Linked DNA regions of Homo sapiens: all the other regions are linked to region 4. The links are contacts of gene promoters, found by promoter capture Hi-C in blood cells and fetal thymus (Javierre and others, 2016). All regions are on one chromosome and are shown on one strand. Each heading gives the region's core, a stretch centred on a gene start or on the middle of the fragment in contact. The rest is flanking DNA. Distances are from core to core; before and after follow the strand shown.

Evidence for each region. The method cuts DNA at HindIII sites, captures the fragments that hold promoters and counts their contacts. A CHiCAGO score of 5 or more calls a contact.
Region 1: a contact is called between a fragment that was not itself captured here and the fragment with the promoter of BAALC in region 4, in 3 of 17 cell types (megakaryocytes, M2 macrophages and endothelial precursors). The highest score is 5.6, in megakaryocytes.
Region 2: a fragment that was not itself captured here is called in contact with the fragment with the promoter of BAALC in region 4 in 3 of 17 cell types (megakaryocytes, endothelial precursors and M0 macrophages); the score reaches 8.6 in megakaryocytes.
Region 3: a contact is called between a fragment that was not itself captured here and the fragment with the promoter of BAALC in region 4, in 2 of 17 cell types (total CD8 T cells and activated CD4 T cells). The highest score is 5.2, in total CD8 T cells.

The regions. Positions count from the first base shown.
Region 1 is chr8:103,446,619-103,450,897 of GRCh38, forward strand. No RefSeq gene overlaps it. Among named protein-coding and RNA genes, the nearest start is that of DCAF13, 33 kb to the left of the region's middle. The HindIII fragment of the contact is 1,812 bases long and covers 946-2,757 here.
Region 2 is chr8:103,395,722-103,399,434 of GRCh38, forward strand. It overlaps SLC25A32 (solute carrier family 25 member 32), which reads right to left. Exons shown (of 7, transcript NM_030780.5): 7 at 2,917-3,713. Among named protein-coding and RNA genes, the nearest start is that of SLC25A32, 18 kb to the right of the region's middle. The HindIII fragment of the contact is 1,303 bases long and covers 1,608-2,910 here.
Region 3 is chr8:103,532,584-103,536,861 of GRCh38, forward strand. All of the region lies in intron 1 of RIMS2 (regulating synaptic membrane exocytosis 2), which reads left to right. Among named protein-coding and RNA genes, the nearest start is that of RIMS2, 34 kb to the left of the region's middle. The HindIII fragment of the contact is 846 bases long and covers 2,317-3,162 here.
Region 4 is chr8:103,139,400-103,143,562 of GRCh38, forward strand. It overlaps BAALC (BAALC binder of MAP3K1 and KLF4), which reads left to right and starts at 1,326. Exons shown (of 3, transcript NM_024812.3): 1 at 1,326-1,658. The coding sequence starts at 1,499. LINC01181 (long intergenic non-protein coding RNA 1181) reads left to right here. Exons shown (of 6, transcript NR_145429.1): 6 at 474-956. It overlaps BAALC-AS2 (BAALC antisense RNA 2), which reads right to left and starts at 1,943. Exons shown (of 2, transcript NR_027071.1): 1 at 1,855-1,943. RefSeq lists a silencer at 1,362-1,551. The HindIII fragment of the contact is 3,212 bases long and covers 1-1,912 here.

The DNA.
Region 1 (4,279 bases), core at 602-3,101, 310 kb after region 4:
CAAAGGCAATACCAGCTTCGTGGCCAGATGTCTTCACAAGCACTGAAGCCAGTATCCAGAAATGAGCTCATTATTTTGCTCCAGCCCCTAAATTTCATCTCCTATGTTCCCTGTCTCTGCATGACATACCATCCACAGGGATAGCCAAGACAGAAACCTGGGTGTAAGGGCACAAGTTTTATTAAATTAATACTATTAACAATAGCAGCTGATGTTTATTGGACATCTACAACACTGCAGATGCTTTACATGCACTTAATTTAATTCTAAGAACCACAAAAGGAAGGTCCTATTATAATCCATATTTAGTCTCAGTACTGTGCACTGAATCTATAAAAGATTCTAAAAGAGCTCAGTCTCAAAGGAAATAAACATGAAAACAAGTAATTGCAGCACATTATGATGTCTTAGCAGGATACTATAGTAGTGCCCAAGAGGAAAGCCTGACTTCCTGCTGGGGAAAGAAGCCCTTCAGAGGTAAATGGCATTTATCAAACACCGTTTGATTCTGGGATATTGCATGAGTGAGTAGAAATACAGTAGGGCTGTTTTCAAAATCTGTGATCCATCATTCAGATATGGCACTGTTAATGAAAGAAAATTCCAGCAATCTGTATCAGAAAGTCATTATCTTAGGTCAAATAATTCACATTTGTCCCTTGTATACATGGGGGATGGGTTCCAGGACCCTACAACCCTGTCCTGCACATACCAAAATCCATACATTTTTAAGTCCCCAAAGTCAGTTCTGTGGAACCCCTGGGTATGAGAAAGTTGGGCCTTTGTATATGCATGTTTCGCATCCCATGAATACTGTGTTTTTTATCTGTTTGAAAAAAATTTCTGCATGAGTAGAGCTGTGCAGTTCAAATCCATGTCATTTAAGGGTCAACTATAAGATTTGGGCTAATATTCTCCAGAGAGATAAGCGACTTATGGGATAGAAGCTTCATTAGGGTACTTAAGATTAATGGATCAGAAAGCACAAAATATAGATCTAGGGGGTCTTAGGGAAGAGGAAAAAAAGGGCAAGTATTAGGTAAAAATGAAGGTGGGTGTGAGAAATGGAGGCACGGAGCCAGAGCTGAGTGTGTTGCAAATCCTGTGGATGGATGGGCCCATGGCAAGATCAGCCAGCAGCGACAGAAGTAGGCTTACAGCAGGTGCACACACATGCCCGTGCATACTTAAAGGAACAGAGGGAAAGCCAGCAGCAAAATATATACAATACACACACACACACACACACACACACACACACACACACACACACACACACACACACACACACAATCTTCTGCTCTTTACCCTCCATAATTCATCCACCCAAGGAGAAAATCAGTTTTATCTGTAGGGCCAGCTTTAAAAATAGGCCTGGATGATTTTATGATTCTGTCTTCTGCCTTCAGTGAATAAAACATCTTTGCTGCAACTGAACACAAAGATTAAAAATACAATGGTTAGTTGAGTAAATAGTTTTCTTGTAGACTGGGGATCATTTTGTTACAGGGAATGATATTTTCCTCAAGGCATTTCAAGCAGTTTGTGAGCAGGAATCTCACACAGAAACCCAAGTACAGGAACCCCAATACAGCTGGGCCAGACATCCAGGACTCTGGGGCTGGACAGTAGATAGCCACAAAAATGAGACTTTCTGTGCCGCTATTCTGTACGTTTTCTACTAATTATCTTGTCCTTGCTCCCAATTTCTACTCTTCCATAGCTTCAGCTCTTCATGTCCCAAAATGGCTGCCCCAGACTGACTTGACATGACTTTGCAGTTCCAGTGCCCCATCAATTATCCACTTACGTCTGTCTTTCAGTTTCAGTTCCTAAGAGAAGAAAACTTAGCTAGAAACGTGTATTTAGGGGCAGGGTCTTTTGTAGCAGTGTTCCATCAGAGGTCCTGGTTAGCGGCTTTCAGATGTCTACCTTTGACAGCTGTCTTAGCTTGGGCTAGAAGTAGGGGGTCTTCAAAATGAGCTGTGGGTAGGCAAGCCTATAAAATGCTCAGTACATATCAGTTAATCATCAAAATAAATAGCAATACCAAATCAGTATTTTCACATGGGGAGGGAGGTGAAGAAACTAAGAAGAAAGTAGCACAGGTGGCCCCGAGTCAATAAAGGGCACTGGAAGAGGGGCAAATCTTAACTTTATTTCCACTGCCTGTTTTCCTAGATCCATAATCCTAGGCTTTCTGACATACACCCCAAAAAACAGCTCTTAGGCTCAGTCTTGCCTCTGGTGCTACTGAATGAAATAAGAAGTATAATGAGGGCTTGGAATCCAGTTAAGCTCCCTAGACCCTCAGTGTCTCCCAGGTCTGGGTGTAGACCCCAATTGCCATCTTTTCTCCAAGTGGCTCCACCCTGAGCCCCTGTGTTGAGTAGTGTCATGGAACCCTGACTAGCTCCTACCAAATCTGCTTCCTCATGGCTGCCAGCCATGCCTGGCTTATTACTAGCATAATGGACACTTTGGTATATGTCTTTCCTGGTTCCTAAATTGAACTACCACACAGAAACCCTCCCTCTGTGCTCTGGCCAACCACCAATGAACCCCTGAATTCTGCCCAAACTTGCAAAACCACACTGCTGAGAGTACTGCAGGCATTCCCAGTAAATGCAACCCTTAATTGGCCAAGCAAGAGCTGAGGTCTTAGCATGCATTGCATCTGAGAAGAACACAAATTTTGCAGACTTCATAATTATCTCAAAGGGAATTTTATCTTCACTTTAGCAGGGATGAAATAGAAGCTTTATATAGAAGTGTTGCTCTCCAGCTAACACATTCAGGAAGCCTTGCTTTGCATCATTTATGAAGGTTTTTGTTGGTTTTAACACCTTGAACTTCCTTATGAAGATACTTGTTTCCCTCAAGGACTTCTTAATCAAAACATCACACAAAAGTTCCCTTAAACAATTAGAATTGGGAGGAAGATAAGCCCAAATATTGCGTTTGGCATGATAATACATGTTCCTCAAAGCTACTCTCAGTATTTCTAATTTTAATTGTAAAATTCACTTGGTTTTACGTGTGTTATCACGGCTTATAGAATCCCAAATATAAGAGTTTCAAGCTCGAATATAAGTATTAAGTAATTAGAACAAATATATTTGAGTTTAGTTTCAACTCTATAAGAAAATAGGTCAGGAAATTAATTTGTAAAAAGCAATCTTGTTAATTAGATTTCTTTCCAGGTGAAATATGAAGCTTTGAATAGCATTATCCAATCTGATTTATAATGAATGAATTCAATTTCAGCTGTAACAAGTTTCCTATTTATCCATCTGGGACTTTCAAATCACTATGATTCATTTTATGAGAAAAAAATGTGAAATATTTTCTAGAGGAAATACATATCTTAAAATACTTTTACTAATCATGTTTTGCTTAAGTTAGAGTAAATAAGGTAGAAGAAATTAATTGCTCCAAATCTGTTGGTATTCTATAATAATCAATTATGTCTCTAGTAAGTGCTTGTAGGGCAAAACACCTCTGAAATTCAGTCATGTCTTATGTCAAATGGGTGTATGAAGGTGGGCACACCCACGTCTTTAGAGCTGAGGATTTCTAATGAGACAATGCTGTGCCCTAGGCAAGTAGCAATCTTGACAAAGATATCTGCTTCAAGATCTAAGAAAGTCAAGGGTAGGCCTGAGTGGTGTTTGTTATTTGAGTTGATCAGTGGAGGTAACTCATGGGCAGAGCTCTTTTGCTGCCCTTAAAAACATTTCTGAAATCCTTGGCTGAAATTCTACCCCTTTATTACCATAATACTTTTATAAATTATCATAAGCAGTGTGAATGAACATTTGTCCTTTCCCTGGCTGCACAGCATCTATTTTGATGGAATCCGTACTATGTAATTCTTGGAAATGATGGAGCCAGAGACTTCCTTTCCCCACTCCCTTAGGGGCAAAGCCAATTGGATGTTCCTGCCCAGGACTTTGCATCTGGGGTTAGTGAAGCCAGTGTGCAGAGACAGCTTTGAAGTGACAGGGAGGTTCATCTAGTTACAGCAGTGGCAGTCATGTTCATTGAGACATCCCAAACAGACCATTCCTGCAGTAGGACCTTGGCCTGGTTCCTTCTCCCTAACCTTCCCTGGCCCCTATCACATTTCTAGCCTTCAAATCCAGCCTTCCTGTCCAATCTGTGAGCCATCCTATACCTTTGCAACAAATTCCTTTTCTACTGAAGTTAGCAAAAGTCAGTTTCTGATGCTGTAACCTAGATGTGTATAGTCCTTGGCCAATTAACTAGAAACCTACCT
Region 2 (3,713 bases), core at 1,009-3,508, 260 kb after region 4:
TGAGCTATGATCACGTGATCACGTCACTACACTCCAAACTGGGTGACAGAGCGAGACCCCGTCTCAAAAAATAAACAACAACAAAAAAAGAACTTTAGACTACTACTCCAAGAAGGAAGAAGAGACGGATGCTGTGCAGCCAATTAACAGGTATTCATTACAGGTACTTCCAGAGTCTTTCTCCTATTTAGGCCTTTAGAATGAAATTTAAGACTTTAACCCCAAACCTCACATAGTTTCTGCATGTTACCTAACACATCTTTTGAAAACAGGCATAACGGTAACTAAATCATGTCATAGGATTTTCTTCCTATAAGCTATTTTACAATAGCTAAAGAGACCTTGTTATAAAAATGGTAATAATACATACTTTATCTGGAGGATTTTATATTAAGTGTCCACATTCAAAAGAAAATATTAACTCTGATGACTCATAAACTCCAACATACTTTTTAGTTGATATCCCTCTTTTAGTGTGTTTAGAAGACATGACTTTCTAAATATTGTCAGACTACAAAAGCACGTATTGAAATATGATAGTCTTCTTTTCACAAGGCATAGTACCCATCATTGTCCATTGTCTTTGATTACATTCTCTGGTGCACAGCTCCAGCAAGTTGGTTTTTTTTTTTTGTTTGTTTGAAACGGAGTCTCGCTTTGTCGCCAGGTTGTACGGTGGCGTGATCTCAGCTCACTGCAACCTCTGACTCCCTGGTTCAAGCTATTCTCCTGCCTCAGCCTCCAGAGCAGCTGGGATTACAAGCACGCACCACCACGCCCAGCTAATTGTTGTATTTTTAGTAAGTTTCACCATGTTGGCCAGGATGGTCTCGATCTCCTGATCTCGTGACCCGCCCGCCTCAGCCTCCCAAAGTGCTGGGATTATAGGCGTGAGCCACCGTGCCCATCCCCTTAGCCTGTATCTTTATCTTCAAGGGTTCTCCCTACAGCCATGTTCTGGTTTTCCCTTTGCCAACCTCTCCTACCTATACTCCTTCGTAGAACTGCAGTACCTTTACAAGCTAAAGTTCTTTACCTTCCTTTCATCTGCCAAAATCCAGGAAAGAAGAGCCCATAGTGAAATAAATACTTACAGTCACCCCACCCCCTAAGTTGCTTGCAATGTGTCATCAGCCTCTATAATTCAAATCTGCTTTATCAGTGGCATCAATCTTCATCCTACTGAAATATCTATTGGTTGACTAACACCTTCTGTTTTGAATTTGTTCCTCCTGTCTGACCAGTCTTCCTCTGTCACCCCTAAGCAGTAGCCATGTCTCTCTGTTCTAATTACTCTTACTTCTCTTTTACCCAATAAAGCCCACATAGGTTGTCAGGCTCTGAGAGTTCTCATGTCCTGGTCTCAATCTTCCATCTTTCTCTTCCTTTTCCTTTTATTATCACATTAATTGACAACTCACTGTTCAAGGCAGGTCACCTGTGCTTTCCTTTTTCCATGGTTCCCTCTGGAATCTTCATTCAATGCCCAGCTTAAATGTTTCCCCCTCCATGAACCCTGCTCTAGTTCCCCCAAGCTATAAATCACCACTTCAGACTCCATCGACCAGGTCCAAGCTGCCACCTGCTCATGACTCGACATTTGTAAAAGCTTCCCAACTAGTATTCCTGCTTTTTTGCCTTTCTCCTGTTTCCTCTATACAATCACCAGAATGATCTCTCAATCAAAACTCTTCACCATGGCCTACAAGGCCTGGTCTCTGCTAACATTTATTGGCCCAGGCACACTAAGCGCCTTTTAAAAATTCATTAATTTAATCCTCTCAATAATCCTACGGCTATGTACTTTTAATATCCTCATTTGCAGTAGATGCTGTTGGTGACTTACCCAGACCCCTTTCACAGGACTGGTGCACCCATACCCTAGCTGCTGTAGGTGTTGGCTGGTAAGAACTGACACCTCCACCCTTATCTGGAGGATTGCCCTTGGCTGAGGAGAGGTAACAGTCACTCCTCCATCCTTTCTCCCTGTAGCCAGTGGTCCGTGACAGCCTGATGTGGGAACCTAATGGCTCAGCCCCTTCAACTCTGGGCAGGACAACGCTGGGCCCAATTCATTCAGCAGAGTGCCCTATGAGTCAGGGTGAGGCTGCACTACTCCTGAAACTCTTCTTCCCCGGCCTTACCCTGCTTGCTTTACTCCATTACAGATTTCTCCTGAAAGTGCTCCCTCAATCACTTGCCCAAGAATCCCCATCTCCGGCATTGTTACAGAGGAAGTGATCTAAGACACCATTTTACAGATCAGGAAACCTAAGACAAAGAGGGCTGAAGTGATCTGCCTAAGGTCAAACAGAAAATGGGAAAGCTGAATTTTGAAGCCAGAGGGCCTGGCTGTCCCACCTGAGCTCTTTCCCACCATACTGCAGTGGCCACTTCTCCAACCTCCTCTCTCTCCTCACCCATCCCCTCTAGCCAACTTAATTCCTCCCTCAGGCCCTTTTTACTTCCTGTCCTCTCTGCCTAGAATGTGTTTCCTCTCACTGTGGCTCGCTTCCTCACTTCTTTCAAAATGTTCCAAATACTATCTCAGAGACCTTTCCTGACCCCAACCATACTACCTAAGATAGCAACACTATTCCCCCGTTCTGCTGTAGTTTTATTTATAGCATTAAATACCTGAAATTACATTATGCATATATTTCCTTTTCTGTCACTTACACCAAGATGAAAATTCCCTGAGGGCAGGAATATTGTCTGGCTTATTTATTGCTATATCCTCAGTGCTTGGTGACGTACCTGCCAAAGAGCAGGAGTTGAGTGACTATTTGTTGTTGAATGACTGAAATTGAGTTCTCTTCTGTCAGAACTCTTACCAGGCTTTGTGAGATATTCCTTACGAGTTCTTAATCTATAGCTGTAATTATTTAATGCATATTTATCTATCACACAAGCTTGTATGCTCTCAGAGGACAAGAATTATGTTTTATTCATTTGGGAGTACATAGGCGGTATTTAAACAATGGTGCTATCTTAAACACCAAATATCAACTGCAGTTCACTTTTTCCGTGTGGGGACTAATATCAAGATTTCATATGAATTATAGTATAATCCAGAAGTATGAAAAAATACATCATATTTAACTTATAAAGCATTCATCTGCATGTTATAAGATATTACAGTAAATACAATTAGGTACTTACCATTTTATCTTTACTTTAAAAACAATGCCTTTTCCAAAATATAAAAAAAAGACCTATTTTTAAAGAACTATTTAAAGATGGCTTTGAAAACAACACTTTTATTTACAACAAATAGATGGTAGTGCAACAGCACTCGTGGATGTTTACGATAAATAAAAATACTAGTATTCTGGCATCCTTTGGGTACAGGCCCTTTTATATTTATAGATGTCTACAATGACTCATAAAAGTAAAATCAATAAAGGCTATTAATTTGTATTTCAACCTGAATTTGAGAAACCAATGAAGATTAATCATTTATTTGGGATCTAGATCCATATATCTGAAAACTGAAGTATAAAGTTTCTCATTTCCATTTACCTTGTCAACAAACATATCCCAAACATTTCAGCATCTGTAAAAGGTGATCTATTTAGCATCTGTAATAAGTGATTTATAGTTATATATGCTAAATAAAGGTTGACACAGCTGGATCCTAGAAGCTCAGATTTTATAAATTTAAAATAGATTAAGTATTTATGCCAAAAAACAAGAACTGGATCTAGGATTTT
Region 3 (4,278 bases), core at 1,490-3,989, 390 kb after region 4:
CTATGCTCATTTGTTTATGTATTGTATGGGCTGCTTTTGCACTACACTGGCAGAATTGAGTTGTTGAGACAGTGACTATATGTGGCACACTTGTGACCAAATGTGGCACACTTCACTTTACACTGCTGTTTGGTCCACTGCAAATTGCAATAATACAGTTACAACTCAACAGCATTTTGAGTGCCATGAATATAGCTGTACTATGACATTTAGTTCTATTAACTTTTTAATTACTAGTGAGTACATATCATGTCAAATAATAAAAGAAGAGAAACAAAAAAACAAAAAAAGAAAAAAGGGAAAATGGACTTCAAATGTGACTTTAAAGTACAGTAGAGTATGAGTTGCTAAGTTAGATGACAAAGCACTGGGTTTATTATGTATTAGTGCTGTAGTTATACTAAAGGAATATAATATATGTTGACATTACCAGACTAAGCATTGATCACAATATTCTCAAGTAGGGAAAATTAGAATATTAAAGTGGAATATAAGCTGATTTTCTTTACGAAAGTAATAAATGAAAATAAGGCTGTGACCAAAAAGTAAGTTTCTAAGTGGTTCTCTTGTTAGCCAAGCAAATAAATCCATTTAAGATATGGTTAGTTAATTAAATCATATTTGATTGCAGGAACTGAAAAAATGTATCTAGAGAAAATAAACATTAAGCCTTTTGGTGGGAACAGTTTCTCAAAGAGTTGAGGGTATTGGGAGCAGCATTTCTAGTCAGTTACAAAACACAACAAGTGATTTTTGAGTGGTTTTCCTTGACTCTTGGTGAATTGACAAATGTTATCAATACTTTTCTGTTGTTTTTTATTTTAGGAGTTAGTATTGAGTTTTAATAAGCCTCTGAATAGTCAGTGTGGAACAATTAGTGGCAAGAACATTTTCAAATAATTTGAGAAAACATTAATTTAGTACAACCTGAAGTGGAATCTGCTAAGATGTGTTAAAAACTGATAAAACATGGGAGGCTGAGGCAGGAGAATTGCTTGAACCTAGGAGGCAGAGGTTGCAGTGAGCTGAGATCATGCCACTGCACTCCAGCCTGGGGGACAAAGCGAGACCCTGTCTCAAAAAAAAAAAAAAAAAAAAAGAAAAAGAAAAAAACCTGATAAAAGATAAAAATAATGTATGGAGTAGAAAAAGTCTTAGTTGGACAACTTTTCAAAGCTTGTAAAAATTAAGGTGTTTAGAGCTTATGGTTATTCATTGTGTTATTTATGAGTAGATATTCTGCAGAAAATATTTGAATCATCATGTGTTACTGAGTCACTAGTGTCAACAGTGAACTTCGTTCCTTCTTGTAGATGTAACCATCATGACTTCTGTGCATTTTTGTCAGAAATTGAATATTATGACTCATTCTATCAAATAGAAGTGTGATGGTCTAGCAGTCATAAAATTTTATTTCAATTTTTTGAGCTCAAGGCTGACGTTGAACTGTTTCTGAAAAATACACTAAGCCCTGTTATTGAACACTGGATGGCTTTGGAAATTTGCTTTTGCTGCAAAATTGATAAATTTCTGTGTTCAACTTAGAAGCTCCACATATAAGGTAAAACTGTGCTTACATATGGAATTTATAAGTTCTACCATGGAACTTAAAGTCATTTCAATGACAATGTTTATCACAAATAATTTCAAGCTACTTTATATGCTTCCTATGCTGTCAATAGTTAAGTAGTGAGCTCCTCATTCCCACACAGATTTTCAGTTGATATATTTTCCAAGCTCAGACTATAGTATCAACCTAATTTTTCAGACTTTGAAGCAAGTACAAAAGACATATACATATTTCAAAATTTATTTAACTGTGTAATTGAAGAGTTAATATCCAACTTTCATCTGCAATGTATGATGTATAACATGCTAAAAGGCAAATGTCTAGAGAAGTCTCAAACTCAATTCTATAAGTATCCTCTAAGTGATGAATATCATCAATTAAAAACATTCTCATTGTTTGATATCAGTACGTATTTGTATTTCCTATCTGTGCAAAAATATATTACTAAAATGAAATACATAAAATCATATTACAGATCAGCATTAACAACAGGACATTTGCAATTGATTTGGATCATTTGGAATACTAACTTTGAATCCCAATTGAGTGAAATATTTTCCCCCCAAAGAGAATTCCATTATTCTCATCAGTAGACCTGTATTATTACATTCAATTATTTGAATTTTATCAATAAGGGTTTTGTAGAAATTTGTTTTTTATTGTTCTGTTAGCACTACACATTATCCTTAATTTTGCCTTTTGACTTACAAAGCCTTATTTACTGTCTGGCACTTTACAGGAAAAAAAGCTTGCCAACCCTTGATTTAGGCCAGTAAAAAATACCAGTTGAGACTTATTTGAAATCTTTACATTGTATTGATTTTCTTCTTTGAATGAACAAGAGAAATTTATTTCTCTTTAGCTTGAAAATATCCAGTTTACTGTTGCCTCTTTCTGGCTAAAAGAATGTTTTTTTGCCTTTGAATATAAATTGTTATTTACGACTTTAGAATGTACTTATATATGGTTAATTTCAACAACTACCTTTATCATCAGCTCTGAATGTCAGAACTTTCTCTTTGTGAAATTTTATCCTAGTCATGTAAGCATTAGCTGTAGCAGAGGTTATGCTAGCAGAAGTAGAGTAAGTTTGGAGGAGGAGTATAAATGCTTCCTCTTCTCTTGCTATGCAGCCTATCGATTGCCCTTAATTATTTCTACATAGTTTGGCAATGAGCTATACTGCTAGAAAAGCCTTCTCTCTACCTAGACTTTTGACTCTGATATTAGAAACTACCAGGAACCTTGCTCAGAAATGTGATTATTCATTCCATAGGTGGCAGATCAGGCTCAAGTATATCTACAGGATTTTAATACTGTAATGTGTAGCCCCATTATTGAGTCGATTACAGCTAGAAGAACTGATTTGAATGCCCGCAGAGCTTTGCCAGAATTCAACGTTAGCTTTTGGCTAGACTCCAGGAGCCAGTGGTGTACTTTGGCCATCTGTTCTGCTTCCTCACCTTCAGTTCTTCCCAAACTGTGGGGCAACAATTTGGTGCATTTTGATTAATGATAGGTTTAGCAATGGGTGATGGCTTAGTCTTTCAGGTAGCTAAATGTGACAAGATAAGTAGAGCTCAACTTTAATAAGCTTCTGAATACTCTGAGATTCGAGTGATGAAGAGAATGTGAAATCACATAAGGAACAAAGTTCAGAAGGAGCTAACATGTATAGAGCAGTAGGCATGGTGTGAGGTGCTTTATGTGTATCATTTTATTATAGCAAAAAATCCAGGGGGAAGTTGCTACCATGCTTATTTTATAGGTGGAACTCAGAGTTCAAGTAATTACAGTAGCAGGTAGTATGTTAAAAGCCAAGTCCATCTGTCTTCAATACTTGTATTCTTATGATATAGTTGACACAAGTAGAGACTATAGCAAAAGTAGAAGCAGCTAATAATAAAATAGTAGTTTGGGTCACCTCTGACTTTAGTGTCATCATATTGTGTTTTACTGGGGAGCCAATTATTTGGTTCAGACTTATTTTCTGGGAATGGAAACTGCAGAGATATTCTGATAACCTACTTTGGTTGTAGTAAGTTCTAGAAAGATGCTCTCTTGACTTTGTGTTAGCAGAAACAAACAAGGGCACTTTTGTGTGTATGGGACCAAATTAAAAATTTAAAGTTTATTTAAATACTTTTATAAATGTGATTTATGGCAGAGAAGACTTTAAGACTCTCCATGGACCTAAGAACAAGCAGTAAGAAAGGAGAAGTATTAATGCAGAGTATAGAAACGGTGAAATAATCTTAAGATGTACATTGGTCACTGTATCAGTCCATTCTTGCATTGCTGTAAAGGAATACCTGAGACTAGGTAATTTATAAAGAAAAGCAGGTTAATTTAATTAACCTCATGGTTCCTCAGGCTGTACAGGAAGCATGATGCTGACGTCTGCTCGGTTTCTGGGGAGACCTTTCAATCATGGTGGAAGGTGAGGGGGAAGCAGGCACATCTTGCATGGCCAGAGCAAGAGCAAGAGACACTGAAGGGGGAGGTGCTATACGCTTTTAAATAGCTAGATCTTGCAAAAACTCACTAACCATCATGAGAACAGCACCAGGAAGTGGTGCTAAACTATTCATGAGAGCTCTGCCCCTATGATCCAATCACCTCCCACCAGGTCCCACCCTCCAACACTGGGGATCACAATTCGATGTGAGATTTAGGTTGGGACATAGATCCAAAACATATCAGTCACA
Region 4 (4,163 bases), core at 76-2,575:
TCTACCCTCAACTGGATCATCTTTAGCCCAAATTACAATAATTTAAGTGAATCAAATTACTATAAAAAGATACTTCATTATTAATTCACTGGACATTTACTGAGGGCCTACTCTGTGCCAGGCAATGCTCTGAACTTGCCCTACCTATTGGATGCTACGTGCTAAATGTTATAGACAATGTACTCTCGTACATTCTATAAATTATATAGGATATAATGAGTACTATATTCTCTATGCTTTACATGCTATATTAAACATCACACCCTATAGTCTACATACAATGGATAATATACAAAATATATTATATATGTATTATGTCTACTAGAACAGTCTTTTGCCACAATAGGAATTTAGTAAATATACATTGAATGAATGAATGAATGAATATGATACTTAATACCATATTCTAGCAGAGCTTGGTCATTGAAGAGTTATTCTTCCAAACCCTTCCCTTTCCTACCCCCCTCTTGAAGGCTAAGAAGATTTTCATCTTTCACCACCTGTTCTGGATTCTTGGAACAGGTAAATTCATTGGCCTACGCAAGTCTGAGCTCTAGGTCTGAACCCGCATGGACCTGAGGGTGCACCGAGAAAAGAAAGGCTGACAACTGGATCCCGGGAATGTCAAGGCCACCCTGGGCTTGAAGGGACCGGCCATGCCTCCAAGCCTTGCCCAGAGAGGGGGTTCAGGATGCTGCGTGGTTCCAGGTGATCTATTGCTTTCTCGAGTTTAAAGTTCAGAGGATCATGAAGTACCACAGCTGGAAGGGGTGTAAGTGACACTGCCTAGCCTAACTCTCTTAAAAATCATAGCCCTACTCCTGCCTCCCCAAATCAGATACGACAGGCATAGGCTCTGACTGTTCCTTAAGTCTTAGTGGCAATACTCCCTGACCAGTTTTGCGGGGTTGCTCCCAGTTCCATTGCTTTTGTAACAGGTGGCCAGAAAGCCTGGGGTCCCGTGATAAGAGTTTCAGTTCTTTCCAGGATGGATGGAAAGAAGGAAGGAAGGATGGATGGATGGATGAATGAATGAGCGGGTGAGCGGATGGATGGATGGATGGATGGATGGATGGATAGATGGGCCAGAGACTGGGAACGGTAATGCCGGCCAGACGGGTCCGAGCGCCTCGGGAGCCCCAGCCCTCCTCCGGCTGCGGGGCCGCTGCTCCTGCTCCCGGGCCGTCACGGAGCCCTGAGGGAGGGGGCGGGCGAGCGGGGGCCTTGGGGCGGCCAGGGCGCTGGGAGGGAGGACTGGGCGGTGGGGACCGGAGGGGAGGGAGGGCCTTGGAGGCGGAGAGGAGGGACGGGCTGGGAGAGGGCCCGGACTAGGGGCGGCGGGCACCGCAGGAGCTCCGCGCGGCTGCAGCGCGGGCGGGAGCGGGGACGCGATGTCGCCGCCGCCGCCTCCTTGCGGGCCGGGGCTGCGCCTCCGGGGCTGAGCCGCCGCCAGAGCCGACAGCCGAGCAGCCGCTGGGCGCTCCCGCGGCGCAGGAGGATGGGCTGCGGCGGGAGCCGGGCGGATGCCATCGAGCCCCGCTACTACGAGAGCTGGACCCGGGAGACAGAATCCACCTGGCTCACCTACACCGACTCGGACGCGCCGCCCAGCGCCGCCGCCCCGGACAGCGGCCCCGAAGCGGGCGGCCTGCACTCGGGTAAGTGGCCGGGCCCCTGCAGACCCTCGCCCGCCCGCTACCCCGGGCGCCTTGGCCCGGGCACTGAGAGAGGAGCCGGTTCCCTGAGGAATTGATGGCGCGGCGGGGGTGGCTGGGAGGAAGCAGAGGCAGGACCTGCCCACTGATCAGTGGACAGATGCAAGCCCAGGGAGTGGGGTCGACCAGAGCCCCTTACCGAAGGCTGCGCCGATGCCCCAGCTTCCAGCAGCCCAATGCTCTTTGGCCTTGTCCAAAGCTTGCTCGCTGGTCGGGAGACCGGTGGGTGGGAGGACAGCCCACCTCCTCCGCACACATATCCCTCAGCCACCCACCCCCTGATCCGCCCAGGGCCGCCTCCGCCCCGCTTTGGCCCATCTGCCATCCCCTGGCCACCTGCGTACCCAGCCGGGTGACTTCTCATCCATTGGCCACCTGGTGCCCCTCTCTCCCTGGATTTATACACAAGGCGCCTGCCTGGGATCGCCTGGGTGGAGTCTTTCTTGTCGCTTCCCCTTTTCTCCCTCTAGGAAATGAGCCCACTCGCGGGCTTCAAAGACCAGAATCCCAGTTTAGGTCAAAATAAATGCACCCCGCCCCATCGCTAGTTCTGCACTTTAGGTTACTTTTGGAGCAGTTGTTCCATAGCAAAGGACTTCTCTCCCTACCCTATGGTGTCCCAATGCTTTGCAGGAGGCAGGGCACACATGTGGATTTTGACTATAAATTAAATACTCTTGCCTAGGTCATTCCTCATCCAGCAGAAATCTGATAAAAGGAGATGCAAAGAATTGTCTGGTCAGGTCATAAGTCAGGATTTTATTTTATTTTATTTTTTTATTTTTTAGCAGAACAAGTAATTATAGCGCAGAGATGCAAACTGTTGCCACAGACTGACCTTTAATCATAAACATATTGGTGACATTAAAAGGAAAAAATCTCACTACTTATTACATGGATGTTGTCCAAAGCAAGGTCAATATTTGGATAAAAATGTTTTAAGTGTTTCTTCACCCACTGATATTATTGGCATTTTTGAATAATGAAATCTAAAATGGAAAATAGGGTTAATTTGAAGCATAATGTATAACATATGGAAGAGGAAGGAAATGCGAATTACTTTTACAAGGTTAAGAATCTTAAATCCATGCCTACTAAATAGAGCTGTCACTTTAATCAAGAATAGGTTTCTCCATTTTTAAGGACCAAAGCTGGCTCCTTTTCCACATTAACTTTGTGACTTGGTTTTATTTTAAAATTGAGGACTGTCTGTGAAAGCTGTACAATACATTACACTATATTTGTCTCCAGTTTTTCTGACTCACAGTGGCAATCAGAATGGTTATTTTGTATTGCCAATGCTTTTAGCAAGTCACCAAATGGTGTGTTGGCTGAATTCAGTGTCAGCATGAGGATAGATATGAGCCTTTTAGAGGGACCTGGTAAATGTTAGATGTGACAGGGTTTCCCAAGGAGGTATGGTACTTCTCAGCAGAGAGTCAAAGGCCAGAGATGTACTCCGAAGAAATAAGGGTGAAAAGATCTAGCATGAAAAAAATAATAATAAAAAACAACCAAAACCCCGTAAGTACAGCTTTAAGAAATGGTTGCCGTGGTGACTGGGAGTATATGGTGTGTGTGTGTATGTGCGTATATGCATATGTATGGGTATGAAAGAGTTATTATGGGATGGCTCTATATGTACATACATGTTCCTCACAACTTTCCTGACACTCCTTGATTTATTACTCTGCCATACTAATTCATATCCCATCCATCATGAGATCTGGTCACTGCAACAGGTGGGGCCTGGGACAGACACACTCATTCATGGTACCCTGCCAAACATGGGCCAGCCCTGCCAGAGAGGTGGTCCTGAAGGCCTGCATCCTCCAGAGGAGAAGCTCCACTTCAGCCCCAGGACAGCACCCTGAAATTGGCAAGACGCTTGTATGGGCAGGGTCATTTTAATTCCCTGGGAATTTCTGTTAGCCTCAGGGGAGAGGGATATTTCTGAAGACCAAGATTAAATCAAGGCCTTCTTTGGGGGTGTACTGGCATTCCCTAGGGCCTTTGGGAATGGCTTGACTTCTGTGGGTTTTTCAGACTGGGAGCTGGTCATCTTTAGTCAGAATGGGTCATCCGTGAAAGCTACAGATCTCCTGGGTTTCAGCCACCCTGGGAGACTGGCCAGGATTCTGTATTCCTTTCATCTTCTCTGCCCCCTCACTTCCACCTCACCCACCCCCTGCCAGTGCTTTACTCATGATTTTACTCCCAAGCTGCTGGGGGACACCTAACAGCCCCCAGTGGCTGCGTTGTGATAGGAGGCCAGAATGCCACTTTTTCCTGTTTACAGAAGTTGTTTTCTGATGGGAGAGGTGGGTAGGAGTAAATGAAAGAGCCAGTAGATTCAGGAGAGTCCAGACTGTGAAATCAACAAAAATGGCTTCACTACTAGAATTCTAGAGCTGGAGAAGGTCTCTGGAAGTCAGCCACGTGAGTCAA